Linked DNA regions of Homo sapiens: all the other regions are linked to region 1. The links are contacts of gene promoters, found by promoter capture Hi-C in blood cells and fetal thymus (Javierre and others, 2016). All regions are on one chromosome and are shown on one strand. Each heading gives the region's core, a stretch centred on a gene start or on the middle of the fragment in contact. The rest is flanking DNA. Distances are from core to core; before and after follow the strand shown. Region 1 holds the start of ELF2 (E74 like ETS transcription factor 2). Region 2 has its middle 47 kb from the start of RAB33B-AS1. Region 3 overlaps NAA15 (N-alpha-acetyltransferase 15, NatA auxiliary subunit). Region 4 overlaps NAA15 (N-alpha-acetyltransferase 15, NatA auxiliary subunit). Region 5 overlaps NAA15 (N-alpha-acetyltransferase 15, NatA auxiliary subunit). Region 6 overlaps NOCT (nocturnin).

Region 1 (3,990 bases), core at 961-3,460:
CCACACCCGGCTAATTTTTTGTATTTTTAGTAGAGACGGGGTTTCACCGTGTTAGCCAGGATGGTCTTGAACTTCTGACCTCAGGTGATCCGCCCGCCTCGGCCTTCTAGAGTGCTGGGATTACAGGAGTGAGCCACCGCGCCCGGCCTTTTTTTTTTTTTTTTTTTTTTTTTGAGAAGGAGTCTTGCTCTGTCGCCCAGGCTGGAGTGTAGTGTTGCGATCTCGGCTCACTGCAACCTCTACCTCCGGGGTTCAAGCGATTCTCCTGCCTCCCGAGGAGCTGGGACTACAGGCGTGTGCCACCACGCCCAGCTAATTTTTGTATTTTTAGTGGAGACGGGGTTTCACCATGTTAGGCAGGCTGGTCTCGAACTCCTGACCTCAGGCAATCCACCCTCCAGGGCCTCCCAAAGTGCTGGGATTACAGGCGTGAGCCACTGCGCCCGGCCCAGAGTTGCTTTTTAAGAAAGGAAGAGAAGACTCACCCCCAAGAAAATAGAGGCAACAGCAGTATTAACAAAAGAAAGAGATCATTACATTCTTAGGCTCTTCAGGGATTTAAATCTGGAGCCTCCTGCAGCTTTCTGACATTTGAGCCTTACTCTAGGGTGATTTCCACGGTTCCCACGTCCCTTTCAAGAGAACAGCTATCACTTATATTCCTCAGTGTTTCTTCTTTGCTCCAGACTGGTTGTGAAGCCGTAAAAAGGGTAACGCTGGAGCCCAGAAATCAGCTGGTGAATACCGCGCCAGGTGCCAGGTCCATCGCGGCGAGGCTGCAGGAGCCCTGGAGGGGAGCAAAAGGAGCCCCGCGCGCACCGGACAGGCTGTGCTCTTTGTTAAAGAAACAAATACAGAAAACGCCGCGGCGGGGAATGGTGGTGGTGAAGAAATAGACTGAGGCGTTTGTATGCATTAACTGTGCCTACAAAGCCCATTAAAGAGACGCTCCTACACAGGGCAACCCACGGCACCGTGTCATTGGCTTTTGTGCACTTGAAGGCGCGTGAGAGTGCCCCGCTCGAAGGCTCCCCTTTGTGTGAAAGTGTGGAAACCAGAAGCGTGCAGCCACTGCTGGGTTTTCGTTTTCGAATTCGCAGGCACTTGGGCCAAAATACTCCCACACCAGAACACTCTCTCATTCTCGCACCAACAACACTCAGACTTGAGTTACTTCTCCGTTGCGGACCGCGCAAGGAGCGACAATGGCTAGGTGCGAGTGCCCGCAGCTCCCCGGGCAGCTCCAAGGGGCCGCCCGCCGCGCTCCGCAGCTGCGCGCTGGGCCCAGCCACCCGACAGCCAGCAAACGCCGGCACCAACCGCCGCGCGGCCGGGCTGTTGGGCGGGTGGTAATTTCTGGGAATGGGGCGGGGTCGCGGGTGTACTACGCCCGGCTTTTGCTAGCGGGGAGGAGGAGCTGGCGGCGCCGAGGGGCGCGAGGCTGGCGGGGCGGTGCGCCACGTGCGTCACCGGCCGGGGCGGGGCCGGCGTCGCGCTCCTGCCCGAACCCCCACCTTTCACTAAGCCAAGGCTGAGGAGTGGGAACTGGAAAGACCGGGCTAGGAGTTTTTGCAAAACCTCGCCCCCCTGTAACTGTCAGACTGCCCGACTGTGGGGCCGTCTCCGGAGAAGGGCGAGAGTCCTGAGTTGGGGATGCGGTGACGGCGGGGCCTGCGGGGGCCCTGAGTGGCGAGGGTGTGTGCGTGCGGTCCCGGCCGGCGGGGGAAAGCCGGCGGGCGCTGCAGGTGCACGCGCGGCCCCATCGGCCTCACACGCCTGCCCCGTGCGGCAGAGCCCCCTGCACCAATCCGGGGCTGGAGTGGAGAGCGAGATCGGGGAGCCCTGGGCAAGGAGCCGGACAAGTGACGAGCGTCTTTACCTGGGAAGGCGGGTTTGGGAGAAGTTGGGCGAGGAGAAGAGGGCGGGATTCAAGACAGCAAAAGAAGCAGGTTCGGCGGGCTGGTGGGGGCCCGAGGGCGGCGGGGCCCCGCGGGGTATAAATAGCCGGCCCGCGTTTGACAGGCGCTGCGGTGACTGGCGGTGCCGCCCCCGCCCCCCCGCCGCGTGGGGAGGGGAGGAGCACTCTGAGCTGGCGGGGAGGGGGAGGCGGACTCCAGTGTCCTGGTGGAGGCGGCAGGAGGCCGAGGGGGAGGAGCCGAGGCGGGGGGTGGAGGGAGGGGGCCGGGAGCGGAGCGGGGCGGGGGCAACCATTGCTCCCAGCGCCAAGCTCTGTGTCGCCGCCGTCGCCTAGGCGGTTGGGGGTCGGTGGGGCGGCGCGGGCGGGGGTCGCTGCGCGGGGCGGCGAGCCTCTGTTTTGTCTCCTTCTCTCCCTGTGGAGCGGCTCGGGCTGCTGGGGAGGCCCCGGCTCCCTCCGGACGCTCGGCCAACGGCGGCGGCTAGTCCGCGGCCCTGCTGAGAGGGAAAAGGACGCCGCGGTCTTCCCAGGCGTCGCGGAGAGCAGGTAAGAGCGCGGGCAGCCGAGGCTGGTGAGAGGGAGCGCGAAGGGCGCGGCGATAAAGCCTGGCTGTCCCGACTGCCGCCGCCTCCCTCCGCGCCCCCGCCCCGCGCTTGTGTTGTTTGCTTCGGGGTTTGCGGAGGGGTTTTCCGGCGGCTGCGGCGGTGACACCGGCCGGGGGCTGGGGGAAGGGGGCTGAGTGTCCCCAGGCAACGGTCGCGGAGCGGGACTTGGAGAAAGGGGAAGGCGCGCTGCGCGCCTGCCCGCGGGGAGCGCGGGGCGCGGGGCAGGGCTGAGGGAAGAGGTTACAGACCCCGGCGGGGGGGATGGGCCGAGCGCAGCTGGTCTCTCCGTGTTTACATCTCTGCGCGAGTCACCTCTGCCGAGAAGCGGACTGAACTGACCCGCCTCATCCCGCGGGGAGGCCAGGGCGGGGGTCCGGCTCCGGAGGAAGCGCGTCCTGGGAGGGTTTGTGTAGGGCGGGAGTCTGCGGCCGGCGCCGGGGCTGGGCGGCGAGCTCGGGGCGGGACCTGGGAGGCTCCGGCCGCTCTGGGTGGCGGGCAGGCGGGGGGGGGCGCTGGACACCAGTTTCCTTCCCTGTCGTGCCTTATCGCCGCCGCTTACCTTTCCTTCCCGGCGCTGCTAGCTTGCACGACAGGTTGTACTCGGCAGTTCTTTTATTCTCGCTCTCCACGCCGGCACCGTGCTGCCATCTCCCCCTATTCCCCGGGAGGTAGGGAGGCTTTGCTCGGATCGGAATCTGTTTCTTAAGCAAAACAAAAACGGGCTCGTAACAGGCACGTCCAGTGACCGCCTTCTGGATCCTCGCGAAGCTGGTCCTCAGGGACCGCGCGACGGGATGGTCTAGGGGCGCGGAAGGAGGACAGGGAGGGCTCTGCCAGGGCTGGATGCTGACTCTACCCCAGGAGCTTTGTGATCAGGGTAGCCGAGCCCTCTCTTCTGCTCCATTTGGGCATTTTTATTCCATGTCCATAAAGGACTCAAAAAATATTCCGTGACACCAAGAATAATCCAGATCGCACAGTTTCTAATCTTTTTCCCTCTGCCAGCATCCTGGATGGACTCTTTCTAGGAGGCAGATTCGCTGCAGAATAGCCTTTAAGTTTAGTACTTCATTAAATGAGGAAGAGGGGGACACGTCATTGTAAAACTGTTAAAAATTCCCCCCTTTCTTGTGTTCATGAACATTTACTTCAGCTTAATGGTTTAAATTGTAATCCGGTGATGAGAGAATAGTAATCGTGTGTTTGATAATCAGATTTGTTTTCCTTTTTATCTGTGATTCTCTATCCTGAAGTAAATTATGCACTTTCTTTGGTGCCAGAATCACGGAAGGATGTATGCTTTACTAAGAAAGGATTGGATATTTGTGTTTCAGAGTTTCTTCAAAAGGTAGAATGACTTATATAGGACTGGAAACCATTAAATTACATTTAAGGGAATTTAGGAATAATAAAACTTTTTATAGAGCATTACAGTTTACAGAGTACATTCATGTAAATATTATTGAGACG
Region 2 (3,990 bases), core at 1,056-3,555, 230 kb before region 1:
CTCGGCTCACCAGATCAAGGTTCAAGCGCTTCTCCTCCCTCGGCCTCCCAGGTTCAAGCGTTTCTCCTGCCTCAGCCTCCCAAATAGCTGGGATTACAGGCGCATGCCACCACGCCCGGCTAATTTTGTATTTTTAGTAGAGACGGGGTTTCTCCATGTTAGTCAGGCTGGTCTCAAACTCCCGACCTCAGGTGATCCGCCCGCCTCAGCCTCCCAAAGTCTTGGGATTGCAGGCGTTAGCCACTGTGCCCGGCCCCCACTCACCCTCAATTCTATGCTACAGGCATAGTAATAATTTCTGATATTTCTCAGCATTTATTCTGTGCCAGCCACTATTCTAGGGGCTAAATTGCACAACAACCCTGTAAGATAGAAAACAGGTTTCTTTCAATGTCTCAGCCTTTCTTTCTCTCGCTTCCAGGATTTTGCACACGCTGTTCACACTGCTCTCTGCCTGAAACACTCTACTTTCTTTTCCCTTGCTCTTTGACCCTCTCTCAACTGGCTAATTCATACTAACACTTTAGGCCCCAGTTTATTCAATACTTCCTCCAAGAAGCGTTCCTCACTTCCTAAATCTGGGTATATGTGCCACCCTCACTGCCTATATTCCCATTACACCCTGAACTCCCCCATCAGAATACTGTTTACTGGTCTATACCTCACACTGTATTTTATGTTTTCTTTGGGGAAGGGGTGTATCTCTATTACCATTGTAACTCCATTCCCAGAATCGAGCACAATGCCTGGCATAGAAGAGATGCTCAATCACTATATGTTGAGTAAATGAAAAAACCTTAAACAAAGGTTGCTAATAGCATTATGTCTCTAATACCAGCCAGGGCAGAAAGAAATGCATCCCAGACCTACTTGCCAACTGTCCTCTTCCTCACAATTCTGATGCCTCTGCCTGGACCAGTCCTGAAACATCTTTTCATAGGAATTCCATGAGATCTCTAAGGCCAGTTAATCTTCAGTTCCCTATCATATTCAGCACTTCTCCAAATACAAGCCTCTACAGGTGGCTCTCCTTTCCCAGAGAGCTTTGCAAGCTCTCCCAAACCCTTCTGCTTACTTCTGCTCTCCTTTTTCCTGGGCTTTCTGGAACTCCAGCCTATTCAAAACAAACTCACCTGTATTTTCATCCTTTTTTTTTTTTTTTTTTGGAGACAGAGTCCCACTCTGTCGCCCAAACTGGAGTGCAGTGGCACCATCTCGGCTCACTGCAACTTCTGCCTCCCAGGTTCAAGCAATTCTCAGCTTCCCGAGTAGCTGGGACTACAGGTGTGCACCACCACACCTGGCTAATTTTTGTATTTTCAGTAGAGACGGGGTTTCGCCATGTTGGCCAGGCTTGTCTCGAACTCAAGCAATCCACCTGCCTCAGCCTCCCAAAGTGCTGGGATTATAGGCATGAGCCACTGTGCCTACCCATATTTTCACCCTTTTAACAGAATATTCTTTCCATCTCTGGCCTGAAATAGAAACCTGTTTTCCATTAGAAAAATTATCTTCTTACTTCTCTCTTGGGTGGAAGTTGTTAATTTGTCTCACCCTTGTAGAAAACCCTCTCCTTTCAAGCTTTTATTTTTTTTTTAATTATTTATTTATTTATTTGAGATGGAGTTTCACTCTTGTCGCCCAGGCTGGAGTGCAATGGCGTGATCTTGGCTCACTGCAACCTCCACCTCCTAGGTTCAAGCTGTTCTCCAGCCTCAGCCTCCCGAGTAGCTGGGATTACAAACACCTGCCGCCATGCCCGGCTAATTTTTATATTTTTAGTAGAGACGGGGTTTCGCTGTGTTGGCCAGGCTGGTCTCGAACTCCTGACCTCAGATGATCTGTCCACCTCGGCCTCCCAAAGTGCTGGGATTACAGGCGTGAGCCACCACACCCAGCCTCAAGCTTTCATTTTCAACCATCCATCTCTCTACTGCTTCTTACTGTCATCTACTAAGCTACTAGTTATTCTTCTCTCTGGTTTATGGTCCCATCATCATCTGAGATGACCTCACTGTCCATGTGAACAGCCCTAGTCTCCAATTCCTTGAATCCTCTCAATTTGATACCCTTTAACACATTCCACTTGGTCTATTCTATGGCTGTACCTGTTTGCCAACATTAGGTGGTTTGTCACAACTTTATTCTGTTCTTTGGTCTATTCTATAGCTAAATCTAAGTTTGTTACAAACCAGGTGGTTTATCACCTCTTAAATCCTAAATTTCAATCTCGTTCATTCCTTTAGCTCATCCATTTTCTTGCTAAAAGCCCTCCTCTGCCACTTCCTTATCCTAAATTTCAATCTTGTCCATTCCTTTAGCTCATCCATTTTCTTACTAAAAGCCCTCTTCTGCCACTTCCTTCCTTAAATCAGCCTAGATGCATGATCTAGGTTTCATGATCCAACTTTTCATAAACACCCTCAATCCTTTGTGCTCTTGTTCACCTGGCCCAAATTCGGCCTGGGTTTTACCATGATACTATGCTCCACTACATTCCAAGTTTGTGGCCTAAGTACTAGAATAGGTACTTTTGGTATGGTAGGGGCATATAAGATGAAAAAAATCATCCAATATAAAATGAATCCAGCCAGTATATAACAATATAATCATTTACTTCCTATCCCTGTACCTAGCCTTGTATAGGTAAAAATTCTCTCATCCTCTTATTTTTAATGTTGGTTAGGGGCTTTATGTAAAGCTTCTGTGGCTCCAAATGTATTGAAGTGTTCAATGGATATGCTCCTTTTGAAATCTTATCACTGTTCTCATGTAGGCTAAAAATGGAACTATCTATAACTTTCTTGCTTCTTACTGGTAGGTTTATTTACTCATGCAGCAAATATTTGAGTACCTACTATGTATTTGGCATACACTTTGCCCTTAAAGAGCTTATAACAATATAAAAATAAGACAAATACTCAAAAAAGTTTAAGATAATACTACATATGACTAAAAGAAAGATGGAATGTGTTATGAAAGATCAGAGAAGAAAGAACTTATATCCAGCTGAGAAAATCCTTAAAGAGTGGGCAGAATTTGCTCAGTTGACGAGAGGAAATAATATTTCAGCCAGAGTGAGAGATATAAGAAAAGGCTTTGCATAGGAAAGGATTAGGAATAACCCAGTTCTTGTTTGTTTACAGGTGGATGGAAAGCCGATTTCCAGTCTTTATGATAACGCCGATGTTCCACTTGGGAAAGATACTGTACAACAATGAAAGTAGCCCTTTCTTTTGTCTTTCAAAGAATGTATTTTTAACAAACAGCCTCTGTGTGATCCTTTTGACCACACAATTTGTAGAGTTAACGCTGAAATTTTCATTAGCAACAATGAAAGCACACACAGGCACAATATTAATATAGATTAATATCAGCCTATTTTGGTCAGAAAGGCTCATTTAAATGTTTAAGAGACAGAAGTCCCAAATTGTAGTAATTTCTTCCACTAGCAGGAGGAAGCTCAGAATTAGTTTTTCTACAACACTAGAGGAATACTACTCAAAAATAAAAAGGAATTAACCATTGATACATGCAACAACACAGATGAATCTCAAAGTAATTGTGCTGAAAGAAACCAGACCCAGAAAAAGATAAATTCTATATGATCTCATTTATATAAGACTCTAGGAAATGCAAACTAATCTACACATACAGAAAACTGAGGGCAGGTACTGAGAAGGGTAGGAGGGGGGCGTTACAGAGAGGCATGAGGAAACTTTTTGGGGTGATAGATATGTTTACTACTTTGATTGTAAGGATGAGGTCGCAACTCTGTGCGTGTCAGTGGTATATTTTAATATGAACGGCTTATTTTATGTAAATTCTACCCCTATAAAGCTGTTTTTTTTAAAAAAAAAAACTTCTCTTTGAGAGACATCACCTTTGTCTTTTAAACCATCTAATGTTGAATCTAAAAGTTCAGTGTAAAGTTTAATAAAATCAGAGTGTGTATGTGTCTTAATTTCCAGGACATATAATCATAGTGAT
Region 3 (3,990 bases), core at 902-3,401, 200 kb before region 1:
AAATGAATGAATGCACTGTTGTCATCATATTCCCAGGCCTTGGGATTTAGAGATGATTCCTCTGGATTGAATCCAAGTTATACTTTGTTTCATTATCATTTTGGTATAAAGAGAGAGTCTGGAGCTTTGAAGCCAGTTAGACTTGGGTATGGATCCAGGCTTGGATAAGTCATAACCTCTCTGAACCTATTTCTTGATCTATAAAACTGGGGTGATATCTAATCTAAAAGATTTACAGTAAGGAAAAGCTACTGTGTAAAAGTGCTAATTATGTAATAGGTAGTCAATAAATCATAGTTACTATTTTTATCATAGTGTGAAAACATTACGTAGATTTTCCTTATGGCTGGGAACTATGGTGATGACTTTCAAATTTTCACTTTAATCAGGTATTTGTACTGCGACAAATACATATTCCATATCCATAACTTATGTGAAGCAAAAGTTTCACAGAACACTTACTGTGTGCAACATATGCTGATCTTTTCTACACTATTCTATTTTTATTTTGGGTTTTTGAGTGCTGGTAATGACCCACTATCCTGCTAATGGATCATTAATCTAAGTTTAAAAAATATAATGAACTCAGTAGGAAACATTTTCTAAGTGAAATATTCTATACATAATTATTAGCTGAATAATTCACTGACATGCTCTTTGTTGGTTAAATAGCATTTCTTCTATTATTCTATAAAACTGGGTGGTTCAAGTAAATGAGCTATAGTGAAATACTTTAGTTTAACCTCTACTATGGCTGTACTTTCAACTTGGTTTTGTCAATCTATCAATACTTGTTTTTCAGTGGAAAAGCAGGAATAGAGAGGAAACAGAAAAAAGTTATTAAAATAGGTTACAGCCAACTGCAATGACATTAATTATCTCAAAAAGAATGTATCTTCTGTACAATAAAAATTATTTACATAGGCCTTGCTGGTTTGCCTGAAATGCTTTCAGGATACTTTACATGTAAAAAATATCTGCATAGTTTGTATCATAGTTGATGAAGAGAGGGGTAGGCAAGGGGTTTTTATGGTTTTCATTATCTTTTTTTAACTTGTTTTAATCAGATTAAACAATCTCCCAGAAAAATTAAAACTGCTAAAAAAAACTCTACCAAAACTGAAGCAAATAACTTCACTAACAGCTGATTCCAAAAAGTTTGAGGCCTACTAATTTTCTCCTAAACTTTTCTGGATATTTTCCTGGAAATTACAGTTCCAGAAAACTAGAATTGTTAACCTCCAGGAAAATATCAATTACAAAAAGGATAAAAAAATTCTACTGCAGTAAAACCCAGAATGTCCTATGGAATTCTGTGTAATGAAATTTTATGTGTACCCTTAAGAAAAGGAGCAACATCATATGTCACAGATTATCAGATGTCCATTTACTGCTAAAGACTAGTGGGCAGGGGAGAAAAACTCTAAAAAGCCTTTGAATGTGGTAAAACTGACAAAAAACATCAAGGCCTCAGGAAAGTAGCAAATCCCCTACTAACTCAATTACCTTCCATGAAAGAGTAATAAGTCTTGAGAATCAAGGAAAAGTAATAACTGATGAGCGAGAAGGGGAATATAAAACCTTTTCTAAGGGGTTTTTGATTTGGGTCCTTTGACATCTTAAACTGGAATGTTTGGTTCATGCTATTAGCTTATTAACAGAATGAATAAATTAAGCAAGCACCAATGGTTAAAACACACAATGAAAAGGTGGCTGATTCTTAGCAAAAGGGATTGCACAGGGTTCTCAGGCTAGCTGGCATTGTTAATAATTTGGGTAAAAAATGTTCTTATTTTGTGTGAGGTAATGACTGTTCACTACTAGGTTATAGTACAACCGAGTAAGTGATTACAACTCAAAAACGGCAAAATAAATGAGAAAATTAAACAAAGCTTAAAAAAATAAAAAATTTAATAATTTAGTAAGTATTAAACAAGGTTTAATAAACAAATTAGATTATGAAAGAAGGTTGGAGGAGACATACATAAGTATAAAAAACATATCTGCAGATCAAAGAAAAATGAGTTTGTGCAAATGGGAGAGGAAAAAGACCTAAGTTTCACTGTAGATCAAGGCAGCCAAATAGTGCTAATTTTAAAAGCAGTTAGGAGAATATAAACATTTAAGAAAATAATAAGACAAATAGAATATATAAGCACCTATCTTTTACTTAGCACTGACCAGAAATGTAATTGTTTTAAGTCCTACAACTTTAAAATTTAAAATCATAAAAAACTTTAAAAGGGTATTAAATATATCATCCTCATAATAAGAAAAAGACAGTGCTCCTATATGGTAAATAACTGCATGCAGCATTTAGTAATAACATTGTTAGTATAACAACATATTCTAGAGATTTGGAGGGTGCCAGTAACCATGCTAAAATCCATATTCACTCAGCAAAGCTTCCGCAACTGATGAAATAGGTATGGAGGCACTGTTTTCCTCTATACTCTCCAGAAAGGTGTCTGTGAGGGTTTCTTTGTAAAGAAGCAGTTACAACAGTATATCTTAACATGACAAATGTATTCCTGAGAAATTACTTCTAAATTACATATTTTTTTAAAGTACCAAATATTTTAGTTAAAGAAACCCTTGGGGTATAACAAAGATGCCACTATTTGGATATCTGTATTTTCACATATGCCTTTATAGTACACCCGTTTTCAATAAAGGCAATGAAGCAGTCTACCCAACTTCTTAAAGGCTTTTTAAGAGACAGATCTTTACCAATGCAAATAATCACAACCTAATTTCATTGCCTAAAGTCAGTCAAAATTAGATCACTTTGTAAAGTGATGACGATTTCAGCTGAACACAAAGAGCAATGGGTATAGCCAGTATAGATACTCAGTAATTCTAACTAATTATTAATCATTCTAAGCCCATGTGTATTTTAATTTTCTGAAACCAACTGCTGAAAGAAAACACTCATGTTAATCAATCTACATACTGATTATAAGCAAATACATTTAAATATGTCACTTTTAATTTGTATTTCAAAAGAAAGTATCTAACTCAAAAGGATTTAGGTTATTTTACTACCTTTCAGGAAAATATGTATAAAGTATATAACAGTGTGTATGTTATTTTTGAAAATACTTCATTTTGAAAATACATATACTCCATCTTAACTGAGAATAAATTAAAACTATTATTTCTATCCTTAATTTTCTGACCCATGATTGCAAAGTTATTTTTCATACTCCCCCCCCCCAAAAAAACTAAAGAGAAACAAACTACTAAATACAGCAATTCTCTCCTTTACTTTCTACAATATGGTTACATTATTACTTTCATAATTTTTAAAAATTGAGGAAAAACACTTCTACAATTCAGTTTTTGTAACACAAATTAGTTTTTGGACAAGCGTAGTATAATTTAAGTCTAATCTTTCTGGAAAGTCAAAACGATGTTGTTGTTGTTTTTTTGAGACGGAGTCTCACTCTGTTGCCCAGGCTGGAGTGTAGTGGCGTGATCTCGGCTCACTGCAACCTCCGCCTTGCAAGTTCAAGCGATTCTCCTGCCTCACCCTCCTGAATAGCTGGGACTACAGGCATGTGCCACCATGGCCGGCTAATTTTTGTATTTTTTGGTAGAGACGGGGGTTCGCTATGTTAGCCAGGCTGGTCTCGAACTCCTGACCGCAAGTGATCCGCCCACCTCGGCTTCCTGAAATGCTGGGATTACAGGTGTGAGCCACTCCACCCAGCCAAAATGATGTTCTCAATTGGGACAATTTAGCATTTTTTTGGTGATTGGGATGCCTGATTTAATTTCCTCAGTTTTAAATGTATGGAGTTGGCAATGTGATAGTTAATAGTATTTCCAAATTCTATAGATTATTCTGTTAAAGGTTCTATTTCTCCCCCACCAGTCACTTAAAAATCCAAACAACAATACAACCTGACTACAGGAGTACTTTATTATAAATGTACAGTTCTTACAGTAGAAAGAACAATATGAAGATGTGGGCTCTAGTCACTGTTG
Region 4 (3,990 bases), core at 1,491-3,990, 180 kb before region 1:
GGCAACATGGCAAGACCATGTCTCTACAAAAATAAATTAGCTGGGTGCAGTGGCACGCACCTGTAGTCCCAACTACTCAGGAGGCTGAGTTGAGAGGACTGCCTGAGCCCAGGAGCTCAAGGCTGCAGTGAGCTATGATCGCACTAGTGGACTCCAGACTGGGCAAAAGTATGAGATCCTGTCTCAAACAAAACAAAACAAACAAACAAATAAAATATATTAATTGTAAACTAGATATTTTGCCCAACATACAAAAATGTAAAAGAACAATAACCTTCAGAGCTGGCAATAATGTAAAATAAAAGAAAATCTCAATACCCATGTTGGTGGTAATAAAAACTGATGAACCTTTTATCCCAAATTCTCATATCCTTCAACCCACCGATTTCCACTTCTAATAATCCATGCTAAATAAATATGCACATAATTATGTACAAGGACATTTACTATAGTACTATAATGGTGAAAAAATTCACATAGATTCCTACAGTCACTAAAATGTTAACAGTGAAAATAATAATTATGATATGCAGACATGGAGCAATACTATTAAATGGGGTAAAAAGTCTAAGTTGCAGAACACTGAGTATGATATAAACCCAATTATGGACTAAAGAAAAACAAATCAAACAAGAAACCCTGCAAAGAACCATCCTGAAATGCATGTGTATATGTACACATAGAACTCTGGAAACTAGTTGTGCATAAAGGGAATTGATCCTTTCACAGGGATAATTGCTGGAATGAAGAATGGGTGGGAGAAAAGTGAAAGGGGATCTTCATATTTGCTAAGTATACTTCTGTATTAATAGTCTCAGCTTTGAAAAGTTAATTGTGTATTATTTGTATAATTTGAAGAAGAGAAGGAGGGAGGCAGAAGAATAGAAAGAAAAACAAAAGAAGCCAGAGGGTCATAGCTCTCAACTTTAACAGTAAATTGTCCAGCAGATTCTTCTTACTGGTGTTTTCTTCTAAGTTGAAGCAACACCAACAGGTAGAAAGAGATTCAAGTGATATCTGTACAAAGGCTTCAGTATGTGACCTTAGAAATTTCTAAACTGTCCTTAGGCAACAGGAAGTAAAACTTAACGACAAATTAGCAAAATAATTCAAAAGCTGTTTAGCAGGAAGAAGGATATAGAAAGTAGCCAATCATATCCTCAAAAAAGAAATAGGCTTAAAAGAAAAAAAAATTAAACACACTTTTTATGCCCCAATTCCTACAACATTTTTGCCATGAGTAAGGCACAAAATTCATATTTTTGTACGTATGAGATCACTCATTCTCAGGTTCTGTCCCAAATAACTGTCTAAGAAAGACTTCTCCCTAGTCATTCCGATACCCTACTATAAAAACGGTACATTAAAAATGAGTCAAATGATAAGTCACTGTGCAATTTTCCTAGCTTTATCCCAAGCTGGTTTTTAATGTTCAAGCAATATTCATTTTTAGTAGGTTAATTATAAATTACTATTAAAAAGAGGAATAGGCTGGGAATAGTGGCTCATGCCTGTAATCCCAGCACTTTAGGAGGCCAATCCCAGCACTCTGGGAGGCCGAGGTGGGCAGATCACTTGAGGTCAGGGGTTCGAGACCAGCCTGGACAACATGGTGAAACCCCGTCTCCACTAAAAACACAAAATTAGCCAGGCGTGGTGGTGGGCACCTGTAATCCCAGCTACTCAGAAGGCTGCGGCAGGAGAATCGCTTGAACCTGGGAGGTTGCAGTGATCCGAGATCATGCACTGCACTCCAGCATGGGAAACAGAGCGAGACTCCATCTCAAAAAAATAACTAGTAATACTAATAGCCAACACTAATGTAGAATTATAATACTAATTATACAATTAGCAATCTAGTACCTGTAAAATAGTTAGCAATTTATAATTTTGGGTAAACCAGATATTAAATGTAAAACTCATAACATGCAAACTTCTTAAATGCCAATGAATAACTGCAAATTAAATTCTTGTTTAACTTTGGAAGCATAAAAGTAAACATTTTTCTTTTGTTGTTTAGAGAACCTTGTATAATATCTTTCCTCGTGGTGCTCAAGACATGGAGCAATACTATTAAATGAAAAACATAATACACATAAATACACATAAACACATCAGAGCACAAGAAGAACTCTGAATATTATACCTGTATCAGCTTCGTGTTCTTTATTCTCATCTGTAAGGGGGTTGTCATGAAGCTTCAAATAGATCTCTATAGCAATTCTTGCTGCCTTGAAGTAAAATGGATGCTGTCGAAGTACATCTTCTAGTTTTAATAAGTCCACATATGATCTAAGGGTAATCTTCCTCATACAGTATGTATGAAAGTCAAACTGGTCATCAGTGATTTCTATAAAATGCTAACAAAATTATCTTTTTATTATTATACCGAAGTACAGCAATGGCTAAGAAAACTATAAAATCAAAGCATTGGAATACTTGTTACTTTGGCATGAAAAAAACTAGTAAAATTTTAAAAAAACAATTACAATTATTCAACAGGAATATTTTGCATTTCAAATAAGCAAATACAGTTAGCCATTGTCTAGCACAGGATATGGCATACTGCAGGCACAGAATCATTTGTTGAAAAAGGAAGCTTTAAAAATGTTTATTCATTATCCCTTCCTTAATTATACTTAAAGCTATTGTGACAACATCAAACATAATTTATTTACATAGTAGTGCAAGTAGACTCACATGTTAAACATTGAGTTTTTATATTTAGAATCATTTGCAAAGGATTATAAGATGTATTTGATAATTTTTTTTTGAGGATACAAATCTGAATCCTATGCAATGTGATGCTGGTATGTGGAAAAGAAATCAATTAGCAAGTAAGTCAAGCAATCAGGAACTTGATGCATTTCAACTAAGCTTTGGTATTCTATACTTGACAATATTGCAAATGTGAAATTAGTTATATAAACTATGTTTATCTGTGTAAAACACAAAAAAGAAAAACCAACCACTAGTCATGGAAATGAGTCAGACGTGAAGAGAATTAAGAAAACAATTTTATCAAACAGCATGAAATTAGATAAGCTACAGAAGAAATATTGTGAAAAGTCTTCCAACATTTATATCTTACCAAGGGTATATGGCATCATCAATAAATTCTACAATGAACAGGGTCCTAGGAGTACTTTAATCAGCTGTGTATGTACTACTAAAGCGGCAGCAGCAATTTGGAAGGTTCAAAAATCAATAAAAACATAGCCAAGATACAAATTTTCCATAAAGTTTTTTAAAAAAGAGTTCTTACCACAAGACAATAGAGACCCTGGCTGAAAATGCAGTCTATATTTCCAGTATGAAAACTGAAAAAAGTGAATACTGATTTTAAAAAGCACCTACTATGAATTATAAAGAAATAGAAGAGAAAAAAACTATGAAATTTGTCCAAAACCATCGACAGAATAAAACAAGAAAACTTTTATGTAGAAGGTACTTACTCTCTCAATCTCATGACATTTCTTAAGTGCTTCACCAAATTTATTCATTGCTTTATAAGCCTGGGCACATTCTGTTTGGAACCACATGCACTGCATTTCATTCAAATTCTCTACCGCTGATGTTCCTTCCTATACAGAAATCAAATATTTTCAAGATCACTTTTTATCATAGACATCATTCTACCACAGAATTTTAAAAAACAAAGATGTTAAGCTGATTGGGACTCTTTCAAAAAAATTTTTAAAACATTCTTAAAGAATAGTTAACATGGGAAAACAACTGATATTCTCTAACTACTAAAAATAATTTGTAGTTTCACAGGTGAAACTGTGAAACTTTTGAACACACACTGTGTGTTCAACACTGTGAAACTTTGAAACACAAATGTAGTTTCAAAGGTCTACATAATTGAGGGTAGGGATTAATACAAGAAAAAGAACACCACCACATAGCAGGTATTCAATAAATTTTAGTTCCCTTGACCCCTAAAAAATTTATCTGAACGTACATGAATATAAACCAGTTTAAAAGTCC
Region 5 (3,990 bases), core at 1,473-3,972, 170 kb before region 1:
TGTCTTGGATCTGCAGTTCACAAGAGAGCTCCCTCCAGAAGTCTTAGAATTCCAGTTTTTCTTATCAGTACCATTATCCTCCGACAAAAGTTTATCTGGCAAACAATGGCTATACCTATTATGCACATGGATGTATATTATACTTTTTGTGTTCAACCTCAAGGTGAGCCAAGGGAATGTGAAACCAGCAAACTTCAGTTCCCTAGACTAGCAAGGACAAAGCAGCATTTCAGAAGGTAATTTTTTAAAAAATCACTTGTCCTTTCATTACTTGTTATTCTTCTTTTATTTTCTATAATCACGCCCTCAACTTCTAAAACTGTTAAGACTCATTTTTCTCAGCCCTCTGCTGAGTGGGATCTACCCCTCCTATCACAATCTACATATTATGAACCCAAATCTCTGGTCTCCCTTTCTTCCAGAACTCATATTCTTTCTGTGTCATCGAAGACATTCAGATTAACCATAAAGACTCTCAGAAATATCCTATATGTATTTTAGTAAAGACTGATTCATCAATATATATTATTAGCAATAAATCTGGCACATACTACATACACTATAGTTTATTAATAAACTGTTTCTAAGAAATGTCATCCTCTGTCTTATAAAACTAATTGTCTCTTGTGTTTTGATCAAATTCCATAATATTTTTAATACAAAGATACTTTATTTAAAGAATGTTATGAGTCATTTCATTCAACTACTTTTCATTGTTCACAATCAACTTTCTCCTCTATCTACAATATTGTTTAAATGTACATTTTCCCACATCATAAACTATTAAAAGTACACGAGTAAGAAATAGATTTCCTATCATCAAAAAGCTGAATTATATGAAACTGTCAGCAGCAACTAGATTTTTCAGCCTTGCTCTGTCATATTTCAATATTAGAATAAATGACAATTCTTTTAAAAATACCTTTGGTTTCTTCTACAGCAAGTTTATCACAAATCTGCTTTTCATAGGTACAAAGATGTTCCAAAGCTTCTCTATAGAGACCTGCTTCCCGAAGAACTTGATTCTGATATAAGAGTAGTTCACTATATTCATAATCCACCTTGTCAGGGGATGTCTGTATATGGATATAAGGAATACTGACAGTAAGAATTTTATTTTCATATCAGAAAATTGTTCACAATACTCAAAAACATGTAAGAAGTCAAAGGATAACATCCGGTTGATAAAACTAATTTTTAAAAAATTCTTAAGTATCTACAGAGCAACTGAGTAAATAATGACAATATTAGGATATAACAGGTTGAATAAAATAATAATCCATAAGTCCTTACACACAATAAATATGGGGAAGAAGGGAAAGCTCTTACTCAGGAGTAGAATGCCAAATAATAAACCTACAAGGAATGACTAGAGTTAAGAGAATCACCATTTTGCGACTATCATAGTAATACTGATTCAGGCAAGAATCATAATCAATGAATGCTAAAACTAGATGGTGAAAGTTTGATGAGCAATAGGCTATTCAGTCTCAAACTGCATATTAAACACAAAGAGAGAAAAATACGTTTACAACTGCAAATACAACTTTCACCATGTAATCAAATGGAACGAACTGATGGCATGTGCCTCTTGATGTAATGAACGCAGAAGGACCCAATATCATTTATATGGTTTCCTGCCAAAATTATAAAACTCTATCTAAGAATGAGGAACCATCAGAAAAATCCAAATTGAGGGACATCCTACAAAAGCACAGCCTTCTTCAGAAATGTCTATGTCATAAAATACAAAGGAAGTTTTCAAAACTGTTTCAGATTAAAAGAGGCTGAAGAGAAATGATAACTAAATGTAAGGTATGATTCTTAATTGGATCCTGCAATGAAATCAAATTGCTAGAAAGGCTATAACTAGGACAATTAGTAAATTCTGAATATGGGCTGGGGATTAATTAGATAACAGTCTATCAGTGTTAAATTTCCTAATTTTTATAATCTATCCCTATAATACTATCTAGAGAACTGAAAACTATACAGTTATTTTTAGAAAATACACACTAAAGCATTTAGGGGTAAAGGAGCATGATGTCTTGCAATTACTCTCAAACATTTAAGGAAGAAAATTAAAATAGATAAATAGATACACAAATTTTAAAGTAAATGCACCAAATATTAACAATTAGTTTAGTATGAATGAACCCCTATGTAGAGTTCTTTGTGCTATTCCTGCAACTTTTCTATAAGTTTGAAACTATTTCAAAATTAAAAGTAAGCCAGACTATGCACATTATTTTTTTAGTTATACTTAGGATCAGACTTAGTAAAATGGCTTCTAGTTATTACCTGTTGTGTTTTCCTAAATTCTTCTAAAATCTTTGCTGCCATTTCATAATCTTCTAATAAATGGTAAGCAATAGCATAACCAATCCATGATGCTCTCTGCGCAGGTCGAAGCTGAAGTAACTGATACCTCGTTTCCTTTAAAAGGAAAAAAATAAACACTTTTTCTTAGGCTTTTAGTAACAGCAAGTGCTCCTTTAAAAGATCTCCATATTAGGCCAGGCGCAGTGGCTCACGCCTGTAATCCCAGCACTTTGGGAGGCTAAGGCGGGTGGATCACGAGGTCAAGAGATCGAGACCATCCTGGCCAACATGGTGAAACCCCGTCTCTATCAAAAATACAAAAATTAACTGGGCATGGTGGTGCACGCCTGTGGTCCCAGCTACTCAGGAGGCTGAGGCGGGAGAATCACTTGAACCCGGGAGGCAGAGGTTGCAGCCTGGCAACAGAGCAAGACGCCGTCTCAAAAAAAAAAAAAAAAAACACACATTAATTTATCCCACAACCCCAAGCATTTTACAACACAATGATGGGAACAATAATAGAAAATACTTCAAACATCCATATTGTGTAGCTTTATGGAGGCAAAGAAATATTTGTTAAGAACATAATGAAGCCTCCAAGCTAATCTTAGAATTTTTTTAAAACTTAAGACCAGATTTAAGTTTTTAAAACTTAAGACCAAACTTAAGACCCTTCTTTATTTCTTGATCTGCTCAGTCCCAGAAAAGAGGCAGGATGGAAAGAACAGCACAAAGGAAAAATATTCAAAAATGTTTTTAAAAATTAAGTGTCCAACTACAGAGTTAACATACATAAAGAGGAAAGAATATGAAAGAGGAACTAAATAGATCTAACACTAATTTAAGGGTTAAAATCGAAGCTACAAAAATATATTAGAGTCAGTGGAGGTAGAAAGAAGAAACAAAACATTTGTTTTTGCCAGGTGCAGCAGCTCATGCCCGTAATCCTAGCACTTTGGGAGAATAAGGTGGGGTGGACTGCCTGAGCTCAGGAGTTCAAGACCAGCCTGAGCAACATGGTGAAACCTCATCTCTATTAGAATATAAAAAATGAGCTGGGCATGGTGGCACATGTCTGTAGCCCCAGCTACTCAGGAGGCTGAGGCATGAGAACTGCTTGAACCCAGGAGGTGGAAGCTGCAGTGAGCCAAGATCATGCCACTGCACTCCAGCCTGGGCAACAGAGTGAGACTCTAATGTCTCCAAGAAAAAAAAAATTTTTTTTTTGTTTTGCTTTCCAGAAAAATGTGGGAAGTAAATGTTAGAGTTACATGTCAATACTAGACAAAGGCATTGTTTATTTGAGGAGTACTGATTTTCTTTTTTTTTTTTTTTTTTTTTTTTTTGAGACAGAGTTTCGCTCTGTTACCCAGGCCGGAGTGCAGTGGCGTGATCTTGGCTCACTGCAAGCTCCACCTCCCGGGTTCAGGCCATTCTCCTGCCTCAGCCTCCTGAGTAGCTAGACTACAGGCACCTGCCACCACGCCTAGCTAATTTTTTGTATTTTTAGTAGAGATGGGGTTTCACTGTGTTAGGCAGGATGGTCTCGATCTCCTGACCTCATGATTCACCCACCTGGGCCTCCCAAAGTGCTGGGACTACAGGCGTGAGCCACCGCACCTGGCCTGATGTTAATTTTTATCAAATTAAGTCAACCCTACACAGTAG
Region 6 (3,990 bases), core at 962-3,461, 160 kb after region 1:
GGCACTGTTGCCCACATACCTGACACTGAATTCTTGCTAAGTATTAATATATGATTCAAGTGTTGCTTTGAGGCCACATAGATACAGAGGACAGCTAAGGTTTTCACTTGAGGTCTCACTCCCTCCGTGGGAAGGCTGATTTTCTCCCATTCTAAGAATAACAATAAATAAAAAGTATCTTAGCTGCTTTCCGTGGAAGTCCAAACAGGTTTACTATGAGGCTAAACGCCCAGGCACACTGTCCTTCAAATTTCTAATTATCTACTGAAGTATAACCACCACTTAAGTGGCTATCAAAGCCCTATAAACTCTAATTAGTGGCCGGGCGTGGTGGCTCACACCTGTAATCCCAGCACTCTGGGAGGCCAAGGCGGGTGTATCACCTGAGGTCAGGAGTTCGAGAGGAGCCTGACCAACATGGTGAAACCCTGTCTCTACTAAATACAAAAAAATTAGCCGGGCATGGTGGCGCATGCCTGTAGTCCCAGCTACTTGGGAGGCTGAGGCAGGAGAATTGCTTGAACCCGGGAGGCACAGGTTGCAGTGAGCCAAGATTGCGCCACTGCACTCCAGCCTGGGCAACAAGAGCAAAACTGTCTAAAAAAAAAAAAAACCAGAAAAACTGTAATTAGTCACCAGTGACTCCTGACAGCAAATACAGACGCTGTATCTCCCTTCCTAACTCCAAGAAGCCAGAACACAATTACCTCACTTTTCTTTTAGTAAACATCATAGAAACCTCATTTTACTCTAAGTTGTGACTTAGAGTGACTACATGGATACACTCCCATTACAACCTCAGTCTCAAGTTTCCTCTCACTGAACTTTCATTAATATGCAAATTTCTTCCCTTTTTTTTTTCTTTGAGAGTAGCTGGGATTACAGGTGCGTGCCACCACGCCCAGCTCATTTTGTATTTTTAGTAGAAATGGGGTTTCTCCATGTTGGTCAGGCTGGTCTCGAACTCCCGACCTCAGGTGATCCGCCTGCCTTGGCCTCCCAAAGTGCTGGGATTACAGGCTTGAGCCACTGTGCCCGGCCCTGGAATTTCTTCCCTTTCTTAAAAGCTGCTTTTGGCGGGGCGTGATGGCTCATGCCTGTAATCTCAGCACTTTTGGATGGCTGAGGCGGGAGGATTGCTTGAGCCCAGGATTTCGAGACCAGCCTGGGCAACACGGCAAAACCCGTCTCGACAAAATATACAATTTTTTAAAGCTGCTTTTTTCGGGGGTCAATGTTCTTTCTCAGGGGTCTCTTGAACTGCCTTAGGCCCCAAGCTCAAAGATCCTTTTTTTTTTTTTTTTTTTGAGACAGAGTATTGCTCCTACTGTCGCCCAGGCTGGAGTGCAATGGCGCAATCTCGGCTCACTGATACCTCCGCCTCCTGGGTTCAAGTGATTCTCCTGCCTCAGTTTCCGAAGCAGCTGGGATGTACAGGTGTGCACCACCACACTTGGCTATTTTTTTTCTAATGTAAGTAGAGACAGGGTTTCACCATGTTGCCCAGGCTGGTCTTGAATGCCTCAGTTCAAGTGATCCGCACCTCGGCCTCCCAAAGTGCTGGGATTACAGGCGTGAACCACTGTGCCCGGCCAGACCAAAGGTCTTAAGGCTCTTCCAGAATCCTCTCCAGAGCTTCTCAAGCTTTCCAGGAATAAGTACCTTTGGGGAAAGGAGGGGCAGAGCTCATAAATACTCCCTAATCTTTTTGGAAGAATCCCCTGAGGCACTTGTTAAATATGCACTCCACCGGGCTTCTCCACAGGAAACTGATCAAGCAGAGGGCTGAAAGGCCAGAAATCTGCATTTTAACAACTGTCCCAAATGATTCTGCCTCTACCCCTTTTCCTAAGATGCTTGCCACAGCTCCTGCATGCGAGCGCCACCTTCTTCCAGGCATTGTGTGTGTGGTCTTCTCTGCCTGCCCCCACCACCCCGCAAACTGTCCCCTTCCAAAACACCCTCCTTTTTCACCTATTAGAAGCAAAGCATTTCTTGACAAATTCAGCCACACTGATTTCTTTCTTCTCAACTCCCACTGCAATTAGTCATGTCACCTTTTACATGTACTATTCAATAAAGCTTGTGGATAAATTGCTATCAATTGATCTTATTCATTTGTTCTAGGTAAAGTCTAGTGTTGAGACAGCAAGCAAGGTTAAATGATTTACAAATGTTAAGTGTGTGGAATGTGAATCTGGAGCCATGGTTATTAACCCCAAAGAACCCCAGTTCACCATGTTTAAACTGTTGCCATTGAATGCTAACAGAAAAATCATACATTAGTTTTCCCACAAGGAAAGCAATTTATTCCATAGCAGCTTGATAATGACAAGCTTTCCCGTTTCTTCTCTCTCATAAGCAGTTTACTCACATAGTTAAAGGACATATTAAATAAAGCTGCCTTCTCAAATGAGCTGGTGGCATTTGCCTATAAATTGTACCATGAAAAAAAGCAAATGTTCTAATGGTAGAGAACAGTAGTTCAGCCAGCTCTTCATTCTCTGAGGAGGAGGGATGTGGAGGATAGCATTTATAAATCCACAGATGACTTCCAACTGCGTTTCATCCAGTACAGTAACTGTGGCAACTGCTACTTCTTAGGGGGGCTGCTATCCTTGAGAAAAGAAAGCCAAACACCGAGATCATCCCTAGGGTCACCTTTTAATTCTAACAACCTGGAATCTGATAACTCCAAAGGGACTGTACTTATCTTCCCAATAACTACCAATTGCCAAGGGGCATAAGTTATGCAGGAACTGATTAGCAAATGTGGACAGCTGTCGGGACTCACTACTCCCCACCACAAGGCTCAGGAGTGGAGAGGAGCTTTTGGCCCCTTCAATGTCTCTCTCACATATGGGTGCCAGATGTCCAAATTTGAGGGCATAGAAGAACAATCTGGAGTTATTCTTTTTGTCATTTCATTTGGTTATGTGGAATCCAGGGCCCATCATGAATGACTCAGACTTAATAGGTCTACAGTAGGATCCAAGAATCTGCATTTTAAAAAAGCACTTCATAGGCTGGGCGCAGTGGCTCACACCTGTAATCCCAGCACTTTGGAAGGCCAAAGCAGGTGGATCACCAGAGCTGGGGAGTTTGAGACGAGCCCGGGCAACACGTTGAAATCCTGTCTCTACTAAATACAAAAATTAGCCCGGCACAGTGGCGTGTGCCTGTAGTCACAGCTGCTCAGGAGGCTGAGACAGGAGAACTGCTTGAGCCTGGGAGGTGGAGGTTGCAGTGAGCAGAGGTGGCGCCACTACACTCCATCCTGGGCAACAGTGCGAGAGAACCTTGTCTCAAAAAAAATAAAAATAAAAATTAAAATTAAAAAGCACTTAGTGCTGGGTCTGAGGCTCTTTGGAAAACAATGTCCATTTTTGCAAAGTGCCTCTTCTCTCACCCTTCCTCATCTGTGTGTGTCTCATGCCTTTCTGCATTTACTCCTGCTTTTTCCAAACAAAACGCTTTATAGTAATCTCTTCCAATCCTAACCATGCTTCAAGAGCCAGCTGAAATGCCACCCATTTCTAGAAGCCCAAAAGGGACTTCCTGCTTTCCTGCACCCTTGTGCCATTTCCAAGTCAAGAGAATAAAAGGTGTTTCATTTCATTAAACAGCCATTTCATTGTGCAAATCTCATCTCTTACTGGGCAGTAAACTCCTTAGGGACTGACTAAAGCTCATGTTTTTAACTCCCATAATAAAGCACCTACATTGTGTGAGACATTCTGTAAAGATCTGGAATGAGTGAACAAGCAATGAATGAATCAATGCAGGCATGTTTCTTCCAACAAGCTGCTGAAGCTAAAAATGCATGAACAGGAAAATTGTCTAGACTTTATAGTAACTGCCTACAAAAGTTTAAGTACCATAAAGTCCTTCAATTTCCTTATCTGTAAAACTAGGGGGTTTCAGGGGATTTCTTAAAAGAAGTTCATTAAACACTTTCTTGGGTCAAAAGCCCAACATTCCAATCTGACC

The links. Contacts are between HindIII fragments. The CHiCAGO score rates a contact against its expected background, and 5 or more counts as called.
Region 2: a fragment that was not itself captured here is called in contact with the fragment with the promoter of ELF2 in region 1 in 1 of 17 cell types (activated CD4 T cells); the score reaches 5.9 in activated CD4 T cells.
Region 3: a contact is called between a fragment that was not itself captured here and the fragment with the promoter of ELF2 in region 1, in 1 of 17 cell types (erythroblasts). The highest score is 5.0, in erythroblasts.
Region 4: a fragment that was not itself captured here is called in contact with the fragment with the promoter of ELF2 in region 1 in 1 of 17 cell types (erythroblasts); the score reaches 7.5 in erythroblasts.
Region 5: a contact is called between a fragment that was not itself captured here and the fragment with the promoter of ELF2 in region 1, in 6 of 17 cell types (erythroblasts, M1 macrophages, naive B cells and 3 more). The highest score is 7.7, in erythroblasts.
Region 6: a fragment that was not itself captured here is called in contact with the fragment with the promoter of ELF2 in region 1 in 3 of 17 cell types (total CD8 T cells, non-activated CD4 T cells and activated CD4 T cells); the score reaches 6.8 in total CD8 T cells.

The regions. Positions count from the first base shown.
Region 1 is chr4:139,175,438-139,179,427 of GRCh38, reverse strand. It overlaps ELF2 (E74 like ETS transcription factor 2), which reads left to right and starts at 2,210. Exons shown (of 10, transcript NM_001331036.3): 1 at 2,210-2,461. LOC105379412 (a long non-coding RNA gene) reads right to left here and starts at 3,273. Exons shown (of 4, transcript XR_007058273.1): 1 at 3,080-3,273. RefSeq lists a cis regulatory region at 749-873, silencers at 1,240-1,619, 1,630-2,589 and an enhancer at 3,190-3,239. The HindIII fragment of the contact is 9,266 bases long and covers 1-3,990 here.
Region 2 is chr4:139,404,645-139,408,634 of GRCh38, reverse strand. No RefSeq gene overlaps it. Among named protein-coding and RNA genes, the nearest start is that of RAB33B-AS1, 47 kb to the left of the region's middle. The HindIII fragment of the contact is 796 bases long and covers 1,908-2,703 here.
Region 3 is chr4:139,379,486-139,383,475 of GRCh38, reverse strand. The region is part of intron 17 of NAA15 (N-alpha-acetyltransferase 15, NatA auxiliary subunit); the gene reads right to left. Among named protein-coding and RNA genes, the nearest start is that of RAB33B-AS1, 73 kb to the left of the region's middle. The HindIII fragment of the contact is 513 bases long and covers 1,895-2,407 here.
Region 4 is chr4:139,360,094-139,364,083 of GRCh38, reverse strand. It overlaps NAA15 (N-alpha-acetyltransferase 15, NatA auxiliary subunit), which reads right to left. Exons shown (of 20, transcript NM_057175.5): 13 at 3,456-3,584; 14 at 2,147-2,360. Among named protein-coding and RNA genes, the nearest start is that of NDUFC1, 60 kb to the right of the region's middle. The HindIII fragment of the contact is 278 bases long and covers 2,602-2,879 here.
Region 5 is chr4:139,341,272-139,345,261 of GRCh38, reverse strand. It overlaps NAA15 (N-alpha-acetyltransferase 15, NatA auxiliary subunit), which reads right to left. Exons shown (of 20, transcript NM_057175.5): 5 at 2,302-2,436; 6 at 923-1,076. Among named protein-coding and RNA genes, the nearest start is that of NDUFC1, 41 kb to the right of the region's middle. The HindIII fragment of the contact is 3,464 bases long and covers 991-3,990 here.
Region 6 is chr4:139,018,388-139,022,377 of GRCh38, reverse strand. The region is part of intron 1 of NOCT (nocturnin); the gene reads right to left. Among named protein-coding and RNA genes, the nearest start is that of NOCT, 4.6 kb to the right of the region's middle. The HindIII fragment of the contact is 254 bases long and covers 2,085-2,338 here.